Linked DNA regions of Homo sapiens: regions 2, 3, 4, 5, 6 and 7 are each linked to region 1. The links are contacts of gene promoters, found by promoter capture Hi-C in blood cells and fetal thymus (Javierre and others, 2016). All regions are on one chromosome and are shown on one strand. Each heading gives the region's core, a stretch centred on a gene start or on the middle of the fragment in contact. The rest is flanking DNA. Distances are from core to core; before and after follow the strand shown. Region 1 holds the start of OR5B21 (olfactory receptor family 5 subfamily B member 21). Region 2 holds the start of SLC43A1 (solute carrier family 43 member 1). Region 3 holds the start of SMTNL1 (smoothelin like 1). Region 4 has its middle 14 kb from the start of SERPING1. Region 5 has its middle 12 kb from the start of MIR130AHG. Region 6 overlaps CLP1 (cleavage factor polyribonucleotide kinase subunit 1). Region 7 overlaps ZDHHC5 (zDHHC palmitoyltransferase 5).

Region 1 (2,960 bases), core at 260-2,759:
AACTAGCCACATCGTGTGTGTGTGATGGTCATCCAAAAAGGACAAGCTACACTATCCCCTTCTTTTTGTGTCACCAATCAAATTGCTGCTGTTACTCTTCAAGGTAAGCTAAAGTCCAGCAGAGCTGAAGCATTTTTCTCCTTTAATTCCTGTTTTCTCCTTTTTCCTCCTCTCTTCTCACATTTTCTCCCTCACTTCTTCTGAGTCTGCTCCCACTCACTCTGCTACTAGGAGTGGGGAAAGCCTGTGAACACCTCAGGTTGAGGAACAAAAATAGGAGAGAAAGAATGCTCTAAAATGAGGACAGAAACCTGTCTCCAGGCCTGACCATCTGCAAACTCACTGTTACTCCTGAATATTTTTCATATGACAAGTCTAAGCTAATATTTTGGCCCAAAGCACAAACCTGGTAGACAAGAGGATGATAGGATGTTTGTTGTGGGATTAAAGAGCATGAAAAATATTTCCATACTTTCCTATTGATGTTCTGTTTGATTCACCAAATATTTACATACATGTGTGAGGGGCCATGGTAAGGAGAGTGGACCAGAGGGGATGAAGATAGTTACTGTCCCAAGGGGCTTAGAGCTAGGTGAAGAGTGAGTGGTTGCCCAGCTAATTGTGCAATAATCAGCCAAGACTCAAGTGCTTTGAGGAGGGAGAGAAAGGAGGACTTAACTGGAATTAGGGTCTACAGCAAAGACTTCTGATAAGGGGTGAAAAAAGACATATGCATATACACAGATACACAAAGCCATTTGTATATATCAAATTTATAGTTTTATATTAAATATATATAAATACATACTCATATTTACATATACCATACTCCCTTTCAGTTGAACTACTGTTGAGGGATTAATTTATAAAGGCTTCAAAAGTTGTGGTTAAGATCTTTGGATTTAGTATCAAACAGACCTTGAGGGCACCACCTTGTCCTGCCAACACCTTGATTTTGGCCCAGTGAAACTGATTTGAGGCTTCTGGCCTCCAGAATTTTGAGAGAATAAACTTGTGTTGTTTTAAGGAAAAATAAATTTAGAAAATCTTTAGTGAGGCTATATTATTGGAAGTAGAATGTGGAAGACAATAAGTGATGGATGTTTTTATTTTTAATAATTAAATACATACAATCTTATATCCACATCATAATTTGTATTTATATGATGTAAATGTGTTAAAGAATTCAAGATGAATGTATGAACTTTAGATTCAGAAATATAAAGGGGTGAACTTTGATTCTGACCCCTAGATAGGCTATCTTGCTCAATATTCAGCTCCCTGAGCCTTAACTTCCTTATCTGTAAGATGGGCATAATAGCACCTATCTCATATGAATTAAAAGCTATAATATAACAGAGGGTTCTAGGATGAGTGTTACACACAGTACATTCTCTCTATACATTAGTTTTCTCCTTTTTTATCATTCCATCCTCCCTTCTCATACTTTCATTGGAATTTTGTTGACGCCTCTTCTTTAATCACCAGGCTAATTCAAGCTGGCCACAATGGAGAATAGCACAGAAGTGACAGAGTTTATCCTCTTGGGATTAACAGATGACCCCAATCTTCAGATACCCCTCCTCCTGGCATTTTTATTCATCTACCTCATCACCCTGCTTGGGAATGGGGGAATGATGGTGATCATCCACTCAGACTCCCATCTCCACACTCCAATGTACTTTTTCCTCAGTAACCTCTCCCTTGTAGACTTGGGTTACTCATCAGCTGTAGCCCCCAAAACGGTGGCTGCATTGCGGTCAGGGGACAAGGCCATCTCCTACGATGGATGTGCAGCTCAGTTCTTCTTCTTTGTGGGGTTTGCCACTGTTGAGTGCTACCTCCTGGCCTCCATGGCCTATGATCGCCATGCAGCGGTATGTAGGCCTCTTCATTACACCACCACCATGACAGCAGGTGTGTGTGCCCTCCTTGCTACTGGTTCCTATGTCTCTGGCTTCCTCAATGCCTCTATCCATGCAGCAGGCACCTTCAGACTCTCCTTCTGTGGTTCTAATGAGATTAATCATTTCTTCTGTGACATTCCCCCACTCCTGGCTCTCTCATGCTCTGACACACGCATCAGCAAGTTGGTGGTCTTTGTGGCAGGCTTCAACGTCTTTTTCACCCTCCTGGTCATCCTTATTTCTTACTTCTTCATATGCATCACCATTCAGAGGATGCATTCTGCTGAAGGGCAGAAGAAAGTCTTCTCCACCTGTGCTTCCCATCTCACTGCTTTGTCCATCTTCTATGGCACAATCATCTTCATGTACTTACAGCCCAACTCCAGCCAGTCCGTGGACACAGACAAAATAGCCTCTGTGTTTTACACAGTGGTGATTCCCATGCTGAATCCCTTGATATACAGCCTTAGGAACAAAGAAGTGAAAAGTGCTCTCTGGAAAATACTCAACAAACTTTACCCCCAATATTAAATGTGAATGGGAAGTAGGCAAGCAATTAAGGGATAAACTTTCTCTCACACCTAAATGCCATCATGACTTTTAACGTTTGACTGGTTTCAGTTCTTTCTTCCCCAAGAACAGCGGTTACTTCTGCTATTAGAAGATGTAAAAAGCAGCACGTTGAAAGTCTTACTTAGAAAGATAATCTTATATTTAGTGAACAACAACATGGGACAGTTAAGCTTTTCTTGCTTTAGTTTCTTGACGTGGTTTAAAGCAGAAGATTGAAGCATACAAATGAATGTACCAAATTTTCCTCATCCTGTTTTTAATTGTAAGAATTTTTCATTCACTATTAAACTTGGTGTAAAGATTTCACCTTCATTTTTATCAACTGAACACACAGTATCTTTTTTATTCTTTTGTTCTGCGAGTTTGAAAGTTGGACTTTCTGAGGTAGACAAAGGATGTTTCAATATTTTAAATGATATTTGAGAGAAAGTTGTAATTTAAAGGACAAGGCACTAGATCGAGTCAGGTAGCTGACGATTA
Region 2 (2,960 bases), core at 1-2,500, 990 kb after region 1:
CCCTTTTATCTGAGGCCTTCTTGGAGCTTTCTGTAGTCATTCTTGTTTTGTTTTTGAGACAGAGTCTTACTCTGTCACCCAGGCTGGAGTGTAGTGGCATGATCTTGGCTCACTGCAGCCTCCATCTCTCCAGCTCAGTGATCCTCCCACTTCAGCCTGCTGGGTAGCTGAGACTGCAGGTGCACACCACCATGCCTGGCTATTTTTTTTTCTTTTTTGTAGAGACGGGGTTTCACCATGTTGTCCAGGTTGGTCTCGAACTCCTGAGCTCAAGCGATCCTCCTGCCTTGGCCTCCCAAAGTTCTGGGATTACAGGCATGAACCACCACACCTGGCCACCAGTATCACTCTTTTTTTAAAAAAATTTTATTTTTATTTTAAGTTCTGGGGTACATGTGCAGAATGTGCAGGTTTGTTACGTAGGTAAATGTATGCCGTGGTGGTTTATTGCACCTATCAACCCATCACCTAGGTATTAAGCTCAGCATGCATTAGCAGCACTCTTAACACACAATTAAACTCACATGTAATGAGATTACTTCTCATTACTCCACACCATAGTAGTCTATTTTACAGATGAGGATACTGAGGCTCAGGGAGGCTGAGAGATTTACCTGGAGTCAATCAATTGTTGATCTGGAAGCATCCGATCACCAGGTCTTCTGAAATAATGACAGCAGCAACAATTAACATTATGCTTACTATGCCAAATGCTATGCTTAGCATTTTACCTGCATCACAATCGCGATTCCTTTGGGCAGTTAGGTAGGTTCCATTTTAACCGAATTTAAAGAGGAGGAAGCTGAGGCTCAGAGAGGTAACTTGCCCTAGGTAACCCAGGGTAGTCAGTTAAAAAGTCAAGACTCAGACCTCGATCTGACTAACTCCAAAGAAACCCGTGCCACTCTGCCTCTCGGAAAACACTGCTTCCAGCTGCACAGTTCAAAACCCCACCCAAGGCGGCCCTGAATCGCGGTCAGTCGGCTTCAGCCGAATCGCACTTTGTTTTGAACAAGGATACAGAGGGCGCTGCCTGATGTTAGTCTGGGGGCTTGGGGGAGAAGATGGGGGTCCAGGGTGGAAATGTAGGTGCTGGGGCTGTGCCAGAGGGAGAGTGTCCGGGACCAGCGGGCGAGTCACGTGCGCGTGAAACTCGACCTAAGGGGAGGGGAAAAGAAGGGAGCCCCCGCCCCCACCTCGGGGCGCAGCTCCGGACGCGTGTAAATACAACTATCAACTCCGCAGATCCACTTCATCCAAGCCCAGCTTCGCAGACCTCTGGCGCCCGGCGGGTTCCCAGTTCCCCCGCTTCTTCCGAGGAGACAGCGGAGGCGAGGCCACCGGGCTGTCAGGCTGAAGCTCCGTGGCCGCCGGGTCCTGCACGCAGAGAAGACCCCAGCGCCGGCGCGGCTCAGGGCTGGGCCCACGGGACTCCGGACGCGCCGCGAAAGCGTTGCGCTCCCGGAGGCGTCCGCAGCTGCTGGCTGCTCATTTGCCGGTGACCGGAGGTGAGCAGCGTGGGCGGGGAGGGGGCGCGCGTAGGGTCTCCGGCTATGCGTCGGCTGAGAGACACCGAGGCCGGCTCCCGCCGACACTGCCAGGCTTCCCAAGGAAAGACCGTTACTTGCGCCCGCGGTCCCGCGGCACAGTGTCCCATCTCGCCAAGCGCGTCCTTCCCTTTTCTTTTCTCTGACCCCTCCGACTCTTCTCTTCCTCCCGGGTCCCCGCTCGCTGCACTTCCTCTGCTTAGAGCTGCGCGTTTGCCAGAGTTCCAGCGGACCTCCTGGAGCGCTTGAACCCAAAGCCCCGTTTCACAGATGAGAATACCGAGTCCCCCTGGAAGAAGTGACTGGTACTTCCTCCCCTCTCTCTGGGTCTTTCTTGCCCTTCTCCTCTCCGCTTTCCTCGGTCTCATCCCAGTTGTCGCTCCCCGCCCCCGCGCCGCCCGCGTTCCCTCTCCTCCCGCCGAGGCTGCAGCGGCCGCGGCGGGGGGAGCTGGGGCTCTTTCCCTCCCTTTGGTAAACACACCCGCCCGCCAGCCCATCCGCCACCGCTGCCCTTATAAAGTCAGCAGCCGCCAGACTTCCTGCCGAAGTCCGAGCCCCCTCCCGGGGCTGGAGGGGGGCAAGCGGGTTCCGAGGTGCAAAGCCTGGTGCCCCGAGCCCTGCGGAGTGAGTGAGGGGCGCGCGGGGGAGGAGGGAACCGAGGAGAGCCCGTCCTGGGTCTCCCTCCACGTGGCAGCTGTTGGCTTGGCCCGAGAGACTGTAGGGTCGTGGGTCACCTGATACGGAAAGGGGGAGGGCTTGCTGTCGCCCGGCCCCAGAGGGAAGGAGAGGTCTTGGAGGGGCAACTGGAAGATGGGGTCGTAGGGTAGCCTTGAACTTGCCCTTCTTCCTGCCAGCTTCTAGGGGTCTTTCCTGGCGCGAGAGTCCGGACATGGGCCCGCGGTGCTTCAGAGCGCGCTCTGCCCCTTGCTGTCCTCTGGGGACCTGGGCAGATGCGGACTTTCTCCCCAGCAGCCCGGCCCTGAGCGCCCTGGCCTGGGTGAGAGAACCCGGCAGCCTGCTAGGAAGCTGCAGCGCGCAGACAGGACCTTCCTTGTTTCCGATAGTGGCTCAGCGGGAGCCCCGTGCCGCGTGCACCTCTGGCACTGCTAGTGCGCGCGGAGCCAGCTCCTTGGCACCGGCTGGGAAGCCCAGGGCTCTATGGGGCCTCCATGAGGGGCTCCTCGCGGGCTGGCCCGAGAGGTCTCGGGTGCCACCATGATGCAGGACCCTTCCCTGGGGCCACTGGGGGGCCCTTCACCCAGCGCTCTGTTTCTGTGCAGGCTCGGGGCCAGCATGGCCCCCACGCTGCAACAGGCGTACCGGAGGCGCTGGTGGATGGCCTGCACGGCTGTGCTGGAGAACCTCTTCTTCTCTGCTGTACTCCTGGGCTGGGGCTCCCTGTTGATCATTCTG
Region 3 (2,960 bases), core at 154-2,653, 970 kb after region 1:
GCACACGGACACACACCTCGGCTATCCTGCGTGTTTATCACCTCAGCTTTCCACCCTCCAGGCTTGTCACAAATAGAAAAGGAGTGAAGATGCTCAGAATGCTGAGAAACCAGGACGCCACCACCCACCCCCAGCATTCACAGCCCTACAGCAGTTTACAGCTTATGCTGCGGAGGCCCTGCTTTCTCTTGGTCATTTCTTGCTCCGACCCTTCAGAATAGGTTATTGGCCCCATTAGGGAGCCAATGGGGATTTCAGGCTCAGGGAGTTGAAGTCCCTTGACTAAAGTTATAGGACAAGTGGCCTGGCTCTCTATCTAGAATCCAAGTATCCCAACTTCCACTCCAGAGCTCACATCAAATATATGCTCCCACTAGCTCCGCAGCCCAGTGTCCCTACAAAGGCCCTGGCCCAGAGTGGGGGCACCCCACCAGTTGGGAAGGGCAGTCAGATTCAGCCGAGGAGTTCCTCCCTCTTTCTTCTAGGTGCACAGTAGGCCCTTCATGAAAGTTTCTCTGCCCCCACCTTCCTTTCTTATTCTCTCCTTTCCTTCCTCCTTCCTTCCCCAGGAAGTCTCCAAACCATCCCTGTTTTGTGTCCAAAGCAGCACTGCAGATATCTCCCCTCCCTCTCTCTTCCTGTTTCTTCTGGCAGACCAGGAGGAAAGGGACCCAGGAGCCCAAGATCCAAACTCCCAGTAGTATAAACACTGGATGTTCTGTGGTGCGTCTGCCACCCACTGCAGCCTCATCTGTCATCTGGTTGTCCTAAGGCTTCCACCTTCCCCACTCAGCCAGGGGCCCTCCCTTGGAGAGGCCGACCTCAATTGCTTAGACTAGGGGTATCCAATCTTTTGGCTTCCTTGAGCCACACTGGTAGAAGTAGAAGTGTCTTGGGCCACATGTAAAATACGTTAACACTAACGATAGTGGATGAGCTAAAACAAAAATTGCAAAAAAAAAAAAAATCTCATAATGTTTTAAGAAAGTTTATGAATTCATGTTGGGCTACATTCAAAGCCATCCTGGGCCACAGGTAGCCTGTGGGCTGGACAGGCTTGGCTTAGACAGTCTACCCCCCAACCCAGTTTGACTCTTGAGACTCCCAAGGTCCCCTCCCCTGCTCTGTGGCCTCCTCGTGGATGGCCACTTGCAGTCTGCTCTGTAGGTGCTCTGGTGCAGGGCTGAGACCCCAGGCATCTAAAGAGAGTAGACATTGTGGTGGAGAGAATTAGAAAGGAGCCTGGATTTCTCCAAATGGGGGGCCCTCCTGGGAGGCTCTGGCCCTTGGACAGTGGGAGTGAGAATTGGCAGATGGGGAGGGACCCTTAGAAAGGGTGCCAGGGCTTCTCCTACCTGTGGGGCTTCTGCCTGTGGCTTGGGAGCTGTCTCTTTGCTCCAGCTGAGTGGCCTCACTCCCAGGCTGCCTTTAAGCCCCAGTGGCCTCTAGCCCCCAGCTCTTTGGTCCCGCCTCCCCCCTTCCTCTCCCTCTTCCACCCCACCCCCACTTCAAGAGTCTTGGGCTGCCTGAAGAGCATTGTTTACTGGCCTGTTGGTACAACACTTTACCCTAGACTGGGAGGCTCGGATTTCCCGTGGAAGATCTGACAGGTGGCACCTTTCAATCACGGCACGTCCCTTCCGCCCTGAGCCTGGCAGCATCCGTCCTGTGGTCATCTTTCTCCCCAGTGGACTCTCCTAACCCTAGGGACCTTGACAACCATCTTCAGGACTCATTTAGAGCATGGCCCTGGCCTCCACTGCTCATCCAGAGCCCAGGCGAGGCCTCTTGTGCTCCCTTCACACCCACCCCGCCACGTTCCTTACATAGCCCCTTTCCCTCGTCCTCAGACAAAAGCAGCTGCTTAAGGCTGGGCTAAGGAGGGGGCGAGTAGGGCAGCTGCCAACACAGGGGATGTGTCTTGGGGCTCACAGTTGACTGAGAGATTTGGAGGGGGAGGGGCAGAGAGGGCAAAAGTGATGGGACAAGCTGACGGATCACTGGACGGAGCCTGGAAAATACAAAACTCCTGAGTTCTATTTTGAGCTGAAGTGACAGGTACACAGTAGGCTCTGAACACATTTTTATACTGAACTGACATTTTGCTAAGAAAAAAACAAAACAAGCCTGGGCATGGTGGCTCATGCCTGTAATCCCAGCACTTTGGGCAGCCGAGGCGGGTGGATTGCTTGAAGCCAGGAGTTCAAGAACAGCATGGTCAACAGGGTGAAACCCTGTCTCTACTACAAATACAAAAATTGGCCGGGCTTGGTGGCGCATGCCTGTAATCTCAGCTACTTGGGAGGCTGAGGCACGAGAACTGCTTGAACCTGGGAGGCAGAGGTTGCAGCAAGTCACTGCACTCCAGCTTGGGTGACAGAGACTCCATCTCAAAAAAAAGTCTTCACTTTCTCTGTGTGTTTTACAATCTAAGAAAGGCACTACTTTTGGAGAATGGGTGCAGAGGACACTCCCACGAAGCTTGGGATCCCCCCCAGTCCTCCTACCCCAAGCCCCACCACTGGGCCACACTGGCCTCCTTCCTATTCCTTAAATAAATCCATCCCTTTTCAGACTCAGGACTGGTTTTTCCTTCTACTCTTTGTAAGACTGCCTCCCTCTCATTCTTCTGGACTTAGCTGAAATTTCATTCCCTCAGAGAGGTTTTCCATGACCTTCAATTCCTCTCCCTCATTTCAGCAGTTTTTATTGTCCTCATAATACTAAATCTAAAATTACCTTATTCATTTCCTTATTATCTGACTCTCTCACTAGGCTTTAAGCTCCATGAGGGCAGGGATTTTATCTACCATACTCATGGCTGTATGCCTAGATCCCAGCAGAATTGCCTGGCTCATATTAGGTACTTGATAAATACATACTGAATGAAATAACTAATTAATTAACAGAAATATGACAGGAACTTGGAGGTCTTGCCCGGGATGATCTGAAAGAGAGAT
Region 4 (2,960 bases), core at 119-2,618, 920 kb after region 1:
TAGGGCCTTTCTGGGTTCTGCTTCAGGCCACAGAACAGCTTAGACTAGTGGCAAAGCTCTTAACTCACAGGACTCTTTCTGTGTCCGCATTTTCACAGGGGACACTTTCATCTGCCACTGCCATTCTAATTTGCCATCCAGATAGCTGACCTGGAAAGCCGACCCGGAAAGCGCACCCATTGGTGGATTCCAGCTCTCCCGCTAGGCCTCTGGACTTTCTCTTCAGCCTCTTCTCCGTTAGGTTAAAATAGAAGAGTAGACAGAACAAAAAGCCCGGGGGGATGGGGAAGTCAGGGGCCCTGCTTTCTATCTCAGGGATGTGTCCTCTGATCAGGACGTGGCTACCTGGGTGACAGGAGTCAGTCTTCAGGCCTTTGAAGAAGCCCCCTAGTTTGAATGCTAATTTACGCTTCTTCAAAGCTCCCTCATTTTTTTTCTTTTTCTTTTTTTTTTTTTTTTTTGAGACGGAGTCTCGCTCTGTCGCCCAGGCTGGAGTGCAGTGGCATGATCTCGGCTCACTGCAACCTCCGCTTCCCGGGTTCACGCCATTCTCCTGCCTCAGCCTCCCGAGTAGATGGGACTACAGGCGCCCGCCATCACGCCTGGCTAATTTTTTGTATTTTTAGTAGAGATGGGGTTTCCCCGTGTTAGCCAGGATGGTCTCAATCTCCTGACCTCGTGAGCCGCTCACCTCGGCCTCCCAAAGTGCTGGGATTACAGGCGTGAGCCACTGCGCTCAGCCTCTTTTTTTTTTTTTTTTTAACAAGGTGAGTCAGCTTGGATTTAAAGGGACTTTGTCCTTTGTTGGCCTTTGAATGGTTTCAAAGCATGATCTGATGGAAGCAAAACCCAATTCTGAAGTAGTTTTCTCCAAGAGTCTTCTGGGAAGCCGACTACCTAGGCCTAGGTCTTGGCAAGGGCAGGCTGTGGGGTAACTTGGGAGCTTCCCGCATCACTGTGGAGTTGGTCCCTGGCTGCTAGGGAGGGATCATCTCCTTCCCAGGAATGTGCTGGGGGGAGCTGCAAAGTGTCCTGAAGGGTCTGGACAGCCTAGGAATTTCTGTCCCACCTCCACAAGGTGTTATATCCCTAGACCTCAGTCTCTTCTCCTCTGTAAAATGAAGGGCTTTCATTTTTGCCATATTATTACCACCCCATGTACTATTATTTGGTTTCATGTTGTCTAATGGACTCATTTTTGTTTACTTGAATACACATAAAAAGGAAATGACGTCTCCTCTATAAATGGAGAAATGGCAGCACTCTCCATAAATAGAATGGATCAGGGCCAACCAGGCACAGGACCTTGAGTCTGTTGGCTTTTCGGGGACCAATGGAAATGTTATAATTGTAATTTCTTTTCAAATTAGGAGGAAAAAAATAAATATAATAGCAATGCATAAATAATAAGGCCTGGTGTGGTGGCTCACACCTGTAATCCCAGCACTTTGGGAGGCCAAGGGCATGGATCACTTGAGGTCAGGAGTTTGAGATCAGCCTGGCCAACATGGTGAAACCCTGTCTCTACTAAAAATACAAAAATTAGCCAGACATTGTGGTGGGCACCTGTAATCTCAGCTACTCAGGAGGCTGAGGCATGAGAATTGCTTGGACCTGGGAGGTGAAGGTCGCAGTGAGCCGAGATCATGCTGCTGCACTCCAGCCGGGGCAACAGAGTGAGACTTTGTCTCAAAAAAAAAAAACCAGAAAAAAAAACGCCGGGCATGGTGGCTCACGCCTGTAATCCTAGCACTTTGGGAGGCTGAGGCGGGTGGATCACTTGAAGTCAGGAGTTCAAAACCAGCCTGGCCAACATGGTGAAGCCCCGTCTCTACTAAAAATACAAAAAATTAGCCGGGCGTGATGGTGGACGCCTGTAATCTCAGCTACTCGGGAGGCTGAGGCAGGAGAATCGCTTGAACCCAGGAGGCGGAGGTTGCAGTGACCTGAGATCGCACCACTGCACTCCAGCCTGGGTGACAGAGCGAGACTGTCTAAAATAGTAATAATAATAATAATGAATCTAGCCAGGATTATATTCTTATTTATACCAATGCAATCATAAGGTATAATTTAAAAAAAGTTTTTTGGCTGGGCACGGTGGTTTATGCCTGTAATCCCAGCACTTTGGGAGGCCGAGGCCGGCGGGTCACCTGAGGTCAGGAGTTTGAGACCAGCCTGGCCAATATGGTGAAACCTCGTCTCTACTAAAAATACAAAAATTAGCTGAGGGTGGTGATGCACGCCTGTAATCTCAGCTACTCAGGATAGTTGGCTGAGGCAGGAGAATCGCTTGGACCCAGGAGACGGAGGTTGCAGCAAGCTGAGATCACACCACTGCACTCCAGACTGGGCAACAGAGTGAGACTCCATCTCAAAAAAAAATTTTTCTTTTTAGGCAGGGTCTCACTCTGTTGCTCAGGCTGGAGTGCAGTAGCACAATCACAGCTTACTGCAGCCTCGACCTCCTGGGCTCAAGCAATCCTCTTGCCTCAGCCTCCTGAGTAGCTGAGACTACAGGCACATGCCACCACACACGGTTAGTTTTTAAATTTTTTTTTTTTAGAGATAGGGTCTCACTATGGAGAAAGAGATACACCAAGGCGAAAGTGCTTAGGGCCCATGAAAGTCCAAATGCAGCCCTGGAATGAATGCACCTGTAAAATAAACGCAGCAAAAACAGAATGGTGTTACTAAATTCTAGCTGATTCTGCCTGCTGACATCTCTGTAGTAAAGCTTCCTCCTTCCGTGTTAAAAATGGAGTTAGCATGTGTTAGGTATTAAAGAATGAAGAGCATTAAACTGACACTTAGTCCTTGAGAAATCAAAGAGGATCAAAAGAAACTGAAAAAGAAAAAATGTTCTCAATCTGTGATTTCGTTGTTATTTAATACCACCTAAAATTGCTTGACATCCCTTTGGTGGATCCATCCCGTACTTGGCAGACACAGGATTTGAT
Region 5 (2,960 bases), core at 316-2,815, 880 kb after region 1:
ACTACAATGTTCTATTCTCCAAATATATTTGGGGAGAGCTTTGATTCAAAATTTTCAGTTTTAGCGGATCCCATAAATATGGAGACTTCTGAGACCTTGTGCCATGATTTTAGTTTAGAAAATGTAGGTCCTCAGTGGTGAACTTACCACATTTGCCAGTTAATTAGTGCCAGGGATCTCTTTTTGGTAGCTACAGCTCTTTGGACCCTGGAGAAACTGAAAGAACTAGTCTGGTTTGTGGATTCTTAGGAGAATTTACTGATTTCATAATGTAGCCCTGACCTAATCCCAAACCCCAAGATAAGCCAGGGCAGGACTGTCTCCCACATTACTCCAAAGTGGACATTCTAAGGAAATCTTAGGCAAGAGAAAATCAGTCTTCCACGGCCACATTTCAAAATTTTCCCCACATTTCAATTGTTTTCCCACATCCCCTACACACACTGGGACACTTCATATCACATGGAGAGAAGTGAAGGGAGACATTACCAGTCCATTAAAGTTCAGAGAACAAGAGCTCTGTCTTGTTGAACAGTTTGTCCGCTGCCACAACAGTGCCTAGCACAAGTAAGTACTCAATTAAAACTTGAATAAATGAATGGGAAAATGGCAGAAGTCCTGACCTCAGAGGATCCACCCGCCTTGGCCTCCCAAAGTGCTGGGATTACAGGTGTGAGCCACCACACCTGGCCTCTTAAAAAAAAAAAATAGGACTTTAGGAGGCTGAGGCGTGCGGATCATAAGGTTAGGAGTTCGAGACCAGCCTGGCCAATATGGTGAAACCCCGTCTCTACTAAAAATACGAAAATTAGCTGGGCGTGGTGGTGGGCGCCTGTAGTCCCAGCTATTCGGGAGGCTGAGGCAAGAGAATTGCTTGAATCCAGGAGGCGGAGGTTGCAGTGAGCCGAGATCGCAACACTGCACTCCAACCTGGGCGACAGAGCAAGATTCCATCTCAAAAAAAAAAAAATTAAAATAGCTGGGCATGGTGGTGCGGGCCTGTGGTCCCAGCTACTCAGGAAGCTGAGGTGGGACCTGAGCTTGAGCCCAGGACCTCAAGGCTGCAGTGATCTATGATTGAGGCAGGAGAATAGGGCCTGGAGGCAGAGAACCTAAGGACTTTCTAGAACTAAATCAAATGGAAACACTTCAGCTGTGACAGGAAATATCCTCTTGTTTACATAGGGTGTACACAGAGTAAATGACTTTGTAACTTTCCTTCATCCTCTTCATTTACATAAGGCGTACACCAAGTAACCAATGGAAACCTCGGCTCACTGCAACCTTGGCCTCCCAGGTTCTAGCGATTCTCCTGCTTCAGCCTCTTGAGTAGCTGGGATTACAGGTGTGCACCACCACACCTGACTAATATTTGTATTTTTAGTAGGGATGGGCTTTCTCCATGTTGGCCAGGCTGGTCTTGAACACATGACCTCAGGTGATCCACCCGCCTTGGCCTCCCAAAGTTCTGGGATTACAGGCGTGAGCCACCGCACCTGGCCAGTAGATAATATGTATAAATTAGTGGAAAGCAAGAAGGCCTCTAGGACGATAACAAAGTATAGATTCTCTTTAGACGGCCTATTTGAGTAGATAAGGCAATTCACAGGGCTGTGGCCTTGTTTAATCCTAGAACAATTCCAGACTCCAGGTGCTTACTTACTTAAAGGGTAAGAATCATCTTCACCCCTTCTGACTAAAGCCATGGAGTCCTGATCCCAAGAATCAAAGACACGGGGCAGCAGGGAGGAGGAAAGAACATCCAAACACAGAGGTATAATTCCTCTAGTTGAAAGATAATTTGTAAGGCAAAACCCTAGCTGATAATGACTATGAGAAGCTATGCTTTGGTATTCCTAGCTCCACCAGTCTCCAGAGGAGATACATAAAATAAGAATAACATTAATGTCATCATTGTAAAATAAAAAACTTTGCTTGGCCATGTGCGGTGGCTCACACTTGTAATCCCAGCACTTTGGGAGGCTGAGGCGGGTGGATCATCTGAGGTCAGGAGTTTGAGAGCAGCCTGGCCAACGTAGTGAAACCCCATCTCTACTAAAAATACAAAAAATTAGCCGGGCATGGTGGCAGGTGCCTGTAATCCCAGCTACTTGGGAGGCAGAGGCAGGAGAATTGCTTGAACCCAGGAGGCGGAGCTTGCAGTGAGCCAAGATTGTGCCAACTCCAGCCTGGGCAACAAGTGCAAAACTTTGTCTCTAAACAAAACGAAACAAAACAAAACAAAACTTTGCTCAAATATAGACACTGCACACTTTGAATCAAAAGTGTTTGCTGACCATTTATAGGCATAGGTGGGACCAGAGATGTCCTGAATCAGATTCACAAGGAGTTTCCTAGTGGTTGGAGGGGAAAGCCAAATATTTGTGTACATGCTACTGATTTTACATGGCAGTGTAAGTTCAGCACTATGTCTAAAGATGGAGGAGGTGCTATTGGCTGGGAAAAGCAGAAAACACTGTTGGAGAATTGCACTGGGCTTAGAAGAATGGCAGCATTTAAATGAACAGGATCTGTAGAGACCAGGCTGGTGGCTCATGCCTGTAATCCCAGCACTTTGGGAGGCCAAGGCGGGCAGATCACTTGAGGTCAGGAGTTCGAGACCAGCCTGGCCAACGTGGTGAAACCCTGTCTCTACTAAAAATGCAAAAATTAGTCGGGCGTGGTGGCGTGTGCCTCTAATCCCAGCTACTTGGGAGGCTGAGGCAAGAGAATCACTTGAACCCAGGAGGCCAGAGGTTGCAGTGAGCTAAGATCGTGCCACTGCACTCCAGTCTGGGCAACAGAGCGAAACTCTGTCTCAATAAATAAATAAATAAATAAATAAATAAATAAATAGGATCTGGAAATGCATTTTTGTTCTGTTTTGTTTTGCTTCATTTTATTTTAGCTAATATGTACTGAGTGTCAACTCTGTAGGTTCCAGGCTCCATGCTCAGAAC
Region 6 (2,960 bases), core at 155-2,654, 850 kb after region 1:
TCCCCATCTACAGTGGCTCCTGACAAACAGTCAGTCCTCAGTAAACATTTATGAAAAGAAGGAATGGATGAATGGCATCAGATACTTAAGTAATCCAAGTGCAAACCAGGGACACCAAACAGTCATTTGCAAGAGATCAAAAAGAATGGGCTTTCCCAGTTTCTTACCACCTGAAAGCTTAAGTTACACTTTGACTTAGGGCCTAGTTCCAATCAAATAGACAAGGATAGCTGTACTGGAAGGAAAATGAGCTATCTCTGGAAAATGATTAGATATGAAATCTCATTCCAAGATTATCACCAGCCTCTAACTCCCCACAGTAAATCCAGCACTGACAGCAGATTTACCATCTACTTACCTAAGCGCAGAGGAAAGGTGAACTATCATAAGAACTCACAGCCGGGCACAGTGTCTCACACCTGTAATCCCAGCATTTTGGGAGGCCGAGGCAGGCAGATCATGAGGTCAGGAGTTTGAGACCAGCCTGGCCAACATAGTGAAACCCTGTCCCTACTAAAAGAAATACAAAAAATTAGCTGGGCGTGGTGGCGGGCACCTGTAACCCCAGCTATTTGGGAGGCTGAGGCAGGAGAATCACTTGAACCTGGGAGGCAGAGGTTGCAGTGAGCCAAGATCACGCCACTGCACTCCAGCCCAGGTGACAGTGTGAGACTCTTACAAAAACAACCACCACCACCACCAAAAAAAAAAACCTGACGTGGCTCACAGGTAGGTTTCTTGGTTTTCCCCTCCTCCAAGCATTTTAGCAATAAATCATTCCAATTATGTTTCTATAACGCTTAGGGGAAAAAAATAAATTATACCAACTTCTATGATATGGCAAAAATATTTATTAAAATGATTTTTTTTAAGTTTGAACTTTATTGGAAGGAGTCCCTCTAATTCACACTTTCATCCTAGATAAATGGGTAAGAACCACATATGGAATATAAAGCATTGATTTTTTAAAAACCACATAGTAGCACAGTGAAAGAAATGCAATTCTCCAGGGTCTTAGAGAATTCAAAGTGGCATCTTAGGTGGTCTAAGAAACCAATTACAGTCTCATGGTTTTCCTTTTGGTTCAAGATTAGAAGAGTCAGGTTACCACTACCTGTTTTTAGAGGTAGAATATGAACTTTCTACTAGTCCACAGTTTACTGGTCAGGTGGCCCCAACAGTCTTTTATCTCAGCCCATCTGCCTCTAGGGGTGGCCAGATGATCTCTATGTCCCAGGCAGCAAGGCTTCCTGCTGATCTCTACTTCAGATCCATGAACCGGATATCCATGATGAGAAGGAAGTTCTTAGGCAGTGGGCGAGGGGCTGGAGACAGAACAGTAAACACCTGATGCTCCAGGTCCACACTGGTCACCACAATGAAGCCAGCTACACTTGTCTCGGACAGGTTCTCCTCTGTACCCTCGGCAGTGCTAACACTCAGTAGGTGGTGCACCATATCTCGCCCAGGAGTGACAGGTACTAGCTTGAGCTGATTATCCTCTTGAGACATGCCCAAAGGTAAACAGGAGTCTGGGATGGTGGGTGCCCCAACTTTGTAGATTTTCACATCTGAAAATTTGACATTGAAGGCATGGGGATAGAAACAGCCTCGGAATCCATAAAAATACTCACGGATACGCTCATCCCTACATTCCCGCCGGAAGTCCTTGGAGCGCTCCACCACACCCCCAGATTTAGGGAGCAGCACAGTGCGTACAAAGTGGGGGAGGTCCCGTTTCAGTTCATTGTACAGTCGTTCTTGATCCAGAACAACAACGACATCCACCTCAAAAGCTGAGGCTGCATGCACCAGAGCCTGGTAACCAGAGCCCTTGACCCAGCCACAGGTGTTAATGACACAGCCACTCACAGATGCCCTTCGGTTCACCTCACACCTTTGGTTGAACACATCTGCTAAACGAGATGTAATCTGCAAAAGAGAGGATCAAGGTAAGAACAAAAACACCCAGACAAACCCATGGCTACTTTGTTCCTCTTTAGAATAAGTGCTATTAGATATAAGAAAAATGATTTTTTTTTTGAAATGGAGTCTCACTCTGTTGCCCAGGATGGAGTGCAGTGGCACGATCTCAGCTCACTGCAACCTCCACCTCCCGCGTTCAAGTGATTCTCCTGCCTCAGTCTCTGAACAGCTGGGATTACAGGCACCAGCCACCACGCCCAGCTACTTTTTGTATTTTTAGTAGAGACAAGGTTTCACCATGTTGGCCAGGCTGCTCTCCAACTCCTGACCTCAGGTGATCCACCCGTCTCAGCCTCCCAAGTTGTGGGATTACAGGCATGAGCCACTGTACCCAGCCTGAAAAAATGACATTTTTAATGGCTGTAGTTTTGATACCATAACATGGATTTAATTTTTATGTTGCTGCTTCTGCCTCCTGTTTTATGCCCTAAGTGAAAATCTAACAAATTACTAAGAATAGATCCACAGAAATGTTTAACAATCTGAGACTGACATATTTGGAATTGCCTTTCTAAAGTAATGCAGCAGAAATACCAGCTGAGAAAATGCAGTGTTAACTAGTAAACTTCTCCAGTTTCCTACCCTGATAGCAGCCCTTCCCTCCACCCCACCTTTCTCTGGCTCTGACCTTATTATAAAGCTTGATGTTAGTGCCAGGAGTGGTGGAACCAAAATGATACACCAGAGGGGCCTGGATAGAGAAACCCTCTTCGACATCTGCAGGCCGCTCGATGTAGAGGGCCCCCATGGTACCAGGGATGGACACAGAACCCTGGCCCACATCCAGCTCCACATAAGTGGGACGGCGGCCCAAACGCACTGCGTAGTTGAGCAGAAGGCGACACACTGTAGACTTGCCCACATCAGTGGGGCCCACTACCATCACTCGGGGACCTCGCTCTTCTTCCTTTTCCGCTTGCCTCCGCATCTGTTCCAAGGCTGTGTGAGTGTTGAGGTAAAGCAACATAGGAGTG
Region 7 (2,960 bases), core at 159-2,658, 830 kb after region 1:
AAAATCTGTAAATCCAGCCTTGAATTCAAGTTCTCATCTGGTTTATTTCCACAGCCTCCCAAAAGGTAGCTGTAATTCTTACACGAATTATTTTTCTAAAAGGAATTCTGATGTTGAGTCCTCCAATTAAAGACCTCTTCCTATCCAAAGGAAAATGTATGATCTATTTAACTTAGTATGTAAAGTCCTTGACAATTTGGCTCTGGGTTTACCTCCCATCCCTCTGGTCACACCATGCATAACATCCTCTAGCCCCACTAAGTTTGCCATTTCATGGCTACAAGCTTCTGCATGTGCTGTTTCCTCTGCCTAAAAATGCCCTTCCCTCCTATATTCTACTTGGTAAAGTCTTTCCCACCTATTTTCAGCAGCATTTCCCCAATTTATTTGGGCAAAATATGTTCTCATATTTCTTTGTTCTCAATTGTTTGTATTCTCACAGAACCTTGCTCTTGCCTCCATTATAGTCTGCATCACACTGTCATAACTGTCTTAATTCACTGTGGGTATTACTGTACCTAAAAATAGCATCCAACCCATATGCTTTAAATAAATTTCTGCTGAACAAATCACTAAAACTCAAAGATTTGACCCAAAGTGAATCATAGGACTAGAAGTTATGACATATATTCCTAAAGACCCTGACCTGATTTTCATCATCAGAAAATGATAAAAGTATCCCAAAATCCCCGGACTTTAAGGCCCAAGATCAACTGCGTATGCCCAAATCATTATTTTTCATATCCCAAAATCCCAGGACTCTTAAGGCCCAAGATCAACTGTGTATGGCCAACTCATTATTTTTCAAAGGCAGTGTAAGGTGCTTCTAAGAGAGAAGCAGATCTTACCTCGAGGGAAAATCCCTGGGTCCATGAAGGTGGCCATGCTGAAGTTGGCCAACACAAAGAGAAACATAATTGCATTGTAGATGGGCACTGCAGGTGACACATACAGGCTTAGTCCTGGACACCTGCACAGACAATAAAGAAAATGAGGGGTTGCCTCTAATATTTTGGACACGAACCATACATACAAAAATCTGTAAAGACTTAGCCCCTTACCTATAGATAAATCTTGTGTGGTTTACCTTTGCCATCCCAAATTATTATCTTTATCTTTCCCACTAAGTGAGTCTAGTTTCCTATGGGAACTGCTCACTTTAGATAAAAGTACAAGACTCAGAATCTCTCCCATCTTAACCTGTTGCACTAAGGTCTTTGTGCTTCAGATTCATTCCTACCCTGTGGATCTTGCCACATGTTTTGAGATCTGTCCTTATCTCCTTTCTAACCAGACATGAGAACCAGGTACTGACTATGATATCAGCTACACTCCCTTCTCTGGAGCAGCCTGAGGTTTCTGGATCCCAGCTATGTCCCATTGACCTGCACATTGGCCCAAAGCATGGGATACCACCTACCTTTCTAGCCCCCGCCTCCCCCTTGCCAGGGGACTGAACCACATAAGTGCCTAAAGTATCTCCATTGCATTGGATATGCCTGAGAGTTTACTCAACTACAGGCCAGTTCTTAAGGTTGGGAAATTCTTTTAAAACACACAGATGAGAATGGATATCAAGACACAGAAGTAAACCCTTTGATGTCTAAAAATGAAGCAGGAATGGGGGAGGATAGAGACTATCAGACCAAAGAAGCCCTCAATTTTGTAGGAAAAAGAAACTACCCAAACATACCCAGTATTCCACAGCAGTCAACTCAAGATATGCTTTAAGGTAACTTTTCTTGATCAAAAAAACAATTCTCTAGTCCAGAATTAAACTCAGTTTCTTTCAGGATTTGAATCTACGTAGGAATGCTTCAAGAGCTCTTCCTTTCTCTGCTGATTTCCTGGGAGCTGGAAGTTTTGGAAGAACCTGATGTGCTACTTTTTTGTCAGTAGTATCAAACACTCTCGTCTCAGCTCAGGGAGAAGTTCCCACTACCAAGACAGTGGATAAATACTCTAATCTACTTTGTGGCTGAGAACTTAATCTCCAGAATGAGGACAGCATCTGTCCTTGTCCCCTTTATCTGAACCAGTCAAAGCAAAGGAAGAACTCACTGAAGGAAAGGAAGAAGAGGACAGGAGAACAAGACAGCATATGATTCCAGAGAATTAAACCACAGCAGTCTGGGATTCTGTGAAGAAAAGGTATCTGCACCCACCAAAACAAAAAGCACAGCCCTGAGACTGACTCAGAGCAGTTTGGAGGAACTCAGTTCCTTAACGAGATACAAGCAAATCAAGATAAGAGACAAAACTGTCACAAAGCATCTCACAAATCTTTACCACCACCATCTATTTATTCAAATTCCATTCAGCCATTCATTTTGAAAAGTTTTTAGTATTTATTATATGCCAGGCTTTTTAGATAGTAAATATCCATTAGCTGTTTGGTTCTCTTGATATGTCAGTACACAATTAGCAGACAAAATAACGAAGCTGGAGCAAGGGCATCAATTTTAGGGACTAAACAGACCTTCAGTCATAGTTCTATACTATCCTCAAAGAAAGCCCCCCATGGAAGCTTCTTCCTCTGTGAGTTCTTTGGTTCAGAAAAGATGTCTCCATACATTGGCAGGGTTTGGAGTGGAATATAAGCAAAAAGAAGAGTTCCTGCACCGCCTCACCCCAAAGCCTGACCTCCTAGGTTCCTTAAGAAGGAGGGAGAGAAACTGAAAACCAGTCATCCAGGTCAGAGCCCCTCCCTAGTACTAAGTTGTCACTTCAATTTCCGCCTGGGGAAGAAGAGAAAGGGTGACTCACTTGACTCCTACAGCCTGGGAAGATAATTAGAAGGGAAAAAGAAATTAAATCCTTAGAACACTGAGGTGCCCATGATTTAAAAGTCTCATTCCTACAACTGGCCACTGTGGCCTCTTGAGCTTCTGAAAGAAATATTCACCTTAGTTTCCATCTCTGAGAGAAACTAATGAGAGTAAGAACAAGATATGAAACCT

What was found. Contacts are between HindIII fragments. The CHiCAGO score rates a contact against its expected background, and 5 or more counts as called.
Region 2: a contact is called between the fragment with the promoter of SLC43A1 here and the fragment with the promoter of OR5B21 in region 1, in 9 of 17 cell types (megakaryocytes, naive CD8 T cells, activated CD4 T cells and 6 more). The highest score is 13.5, in megakaryocytes.
Region 3: the fragment with the promoter of SMTNL1 here is called in contact with the fragment with the promoter of OR5B21 in region 1 in 4 of 17 cell types (naive CD8 T cells, naive CD4 T cells, non-activated CD4 T cells and 1 more); the score reaches 9.6 in naive CD8 T cells.
Region 4: a fragment that was not itself captured here is called in contact with the fragment with the promoter of OR5B21 in region 1 in 1 of 17 cell types (total CD8 T cells); the score reaches 5.8 in total CD8 T cells.
Region 5: a contact is called between a fragment that was not itself captured here and the fragment with the promoter of OR5B21 in region 1, in 1 of 17 cell types (naive CD8 T cells). The highest score is 5.8, in naive CD8 T cells.
Region 6: a contact is called between a fragment that was not itself captured here and the fragment with the promoter of OR5B21 in region 1, in 2 of 17 cell types (naive CD8 T cells and endothelial precursors). The highest score is 8.0, in naive CD8 T cells.
Region 7: a contact is called between a fragment that was not itself captured here and the fragment with the promoter of OR5B21 in region 1, in 4 of 17 cell types (total CD8 T cells, naive CD8 T cells, naive CD4 T cells and 1 more). The highest score is 9.3, in total CD8 T cells.

What each region holds. Positions count from the first base shown.
Region 1 is chr11:58,506,654-58,509,613 of GRCh38, reverse strand. OR5B21 (olfactory receptor family 5 subfamily B member 21) reads left to right here and starts at 1,509. Exons shown (of 1, transcript NM_001005218.3): 1 at 1,509-2,807. The coding sequence starts at 1,509. The coding sequence ends at 2,438. All of the region lies in intron 2 of LOC105369313 (a long non-coding RNA gene), which reads left to right. The HindIII fragment of the contact is 6,996 bases long and covers 1-2,652 here.
Region 2 is chr11:57,513,992-57,516,951 of GRCh38, reverse strand. It overlaps SLC43A1 (solute carrier family 43 member 1), which reads left to right and starts at 1,250. Exons shown (of 15, transcript NM_003627.6): 1 at 1,250-1,508; 2 at 2,828-2,960. The coding sequence starts at 2,841. RefSeq lists an enhancer at 1,027-1,096. The HindIII fragment of the contact is 5,778 bases long and covers 1-2,960 here.
Region 3 is chr11:57,536,038-57,538,997 of GRCh38, reverse strand. It overlaps SMTNL1 (smoothelin like 1), which reads right to left and starts at 1,403. Exons shown (of 8, transcript NM_001105565.3): 1 at 1,356-1,403. The HindIII fragment of the contact is 14,036 bases long and covers 1-2,483 here.
Region 4 is chr11:57,581,758-57,584,717 of GRCh38, reverse strand. No RefSeq gene overlaps it. Among named protein-coding and RNA genes, the nearest start is that of SERPING1, 14 kb to the left of the region's middle. RefSeq lists a silencer at 2,145-2,312. The HindIII fragment of the contact is 2,742 bases long and covers 1-2,739 here.
Region 5 is chr11:57,624,427-57,627,386 of GRCh38, reverse strand. No RefSeq gene overlaps it. Among named protein-coding and RNA genes, the nearest start is that of MIR130AHG, 12 kb to the left of the region's middle. The HindIII fragment of the contact is 8,519 bases long and covers 1-2,960 here.
Region 6 is chr11:57,659,737-57,662,696 of GRCh38, reverse strand. It overlaps CLP1 (cleavage factor polyribonucleotide kinase subunit 1), which reads right to left. Exons shown (of 3, transcript NM_006831.3): 2 at 2,615-2,960; 3 at 832-1,932. The coding sequence ends at 1,261. Among named protein-coding and RNA genes, the nearest start is that of CLP1, 3.5 kb to the right of the region's middle. The HindIII fragment of the contact is 2,449 bases long and covers 180-2,628 here.
Region 7 is chr11:57,680,432-57,683,391 of GRCh38, reverse strand. It overlaps ZDHHC5 (zDHHC palmitoyltransferase 5), which reads right to left. Exons shown (of 12, transcript NM_015457.3): 3 at 849-970. Among named protein-coding and RNA genes, the nearest start is that of ZDHHC5, 14 kb to the right of the region's middle. The HindIII fragment of the contact is 2,243 bases long and covers 287-2,529 here.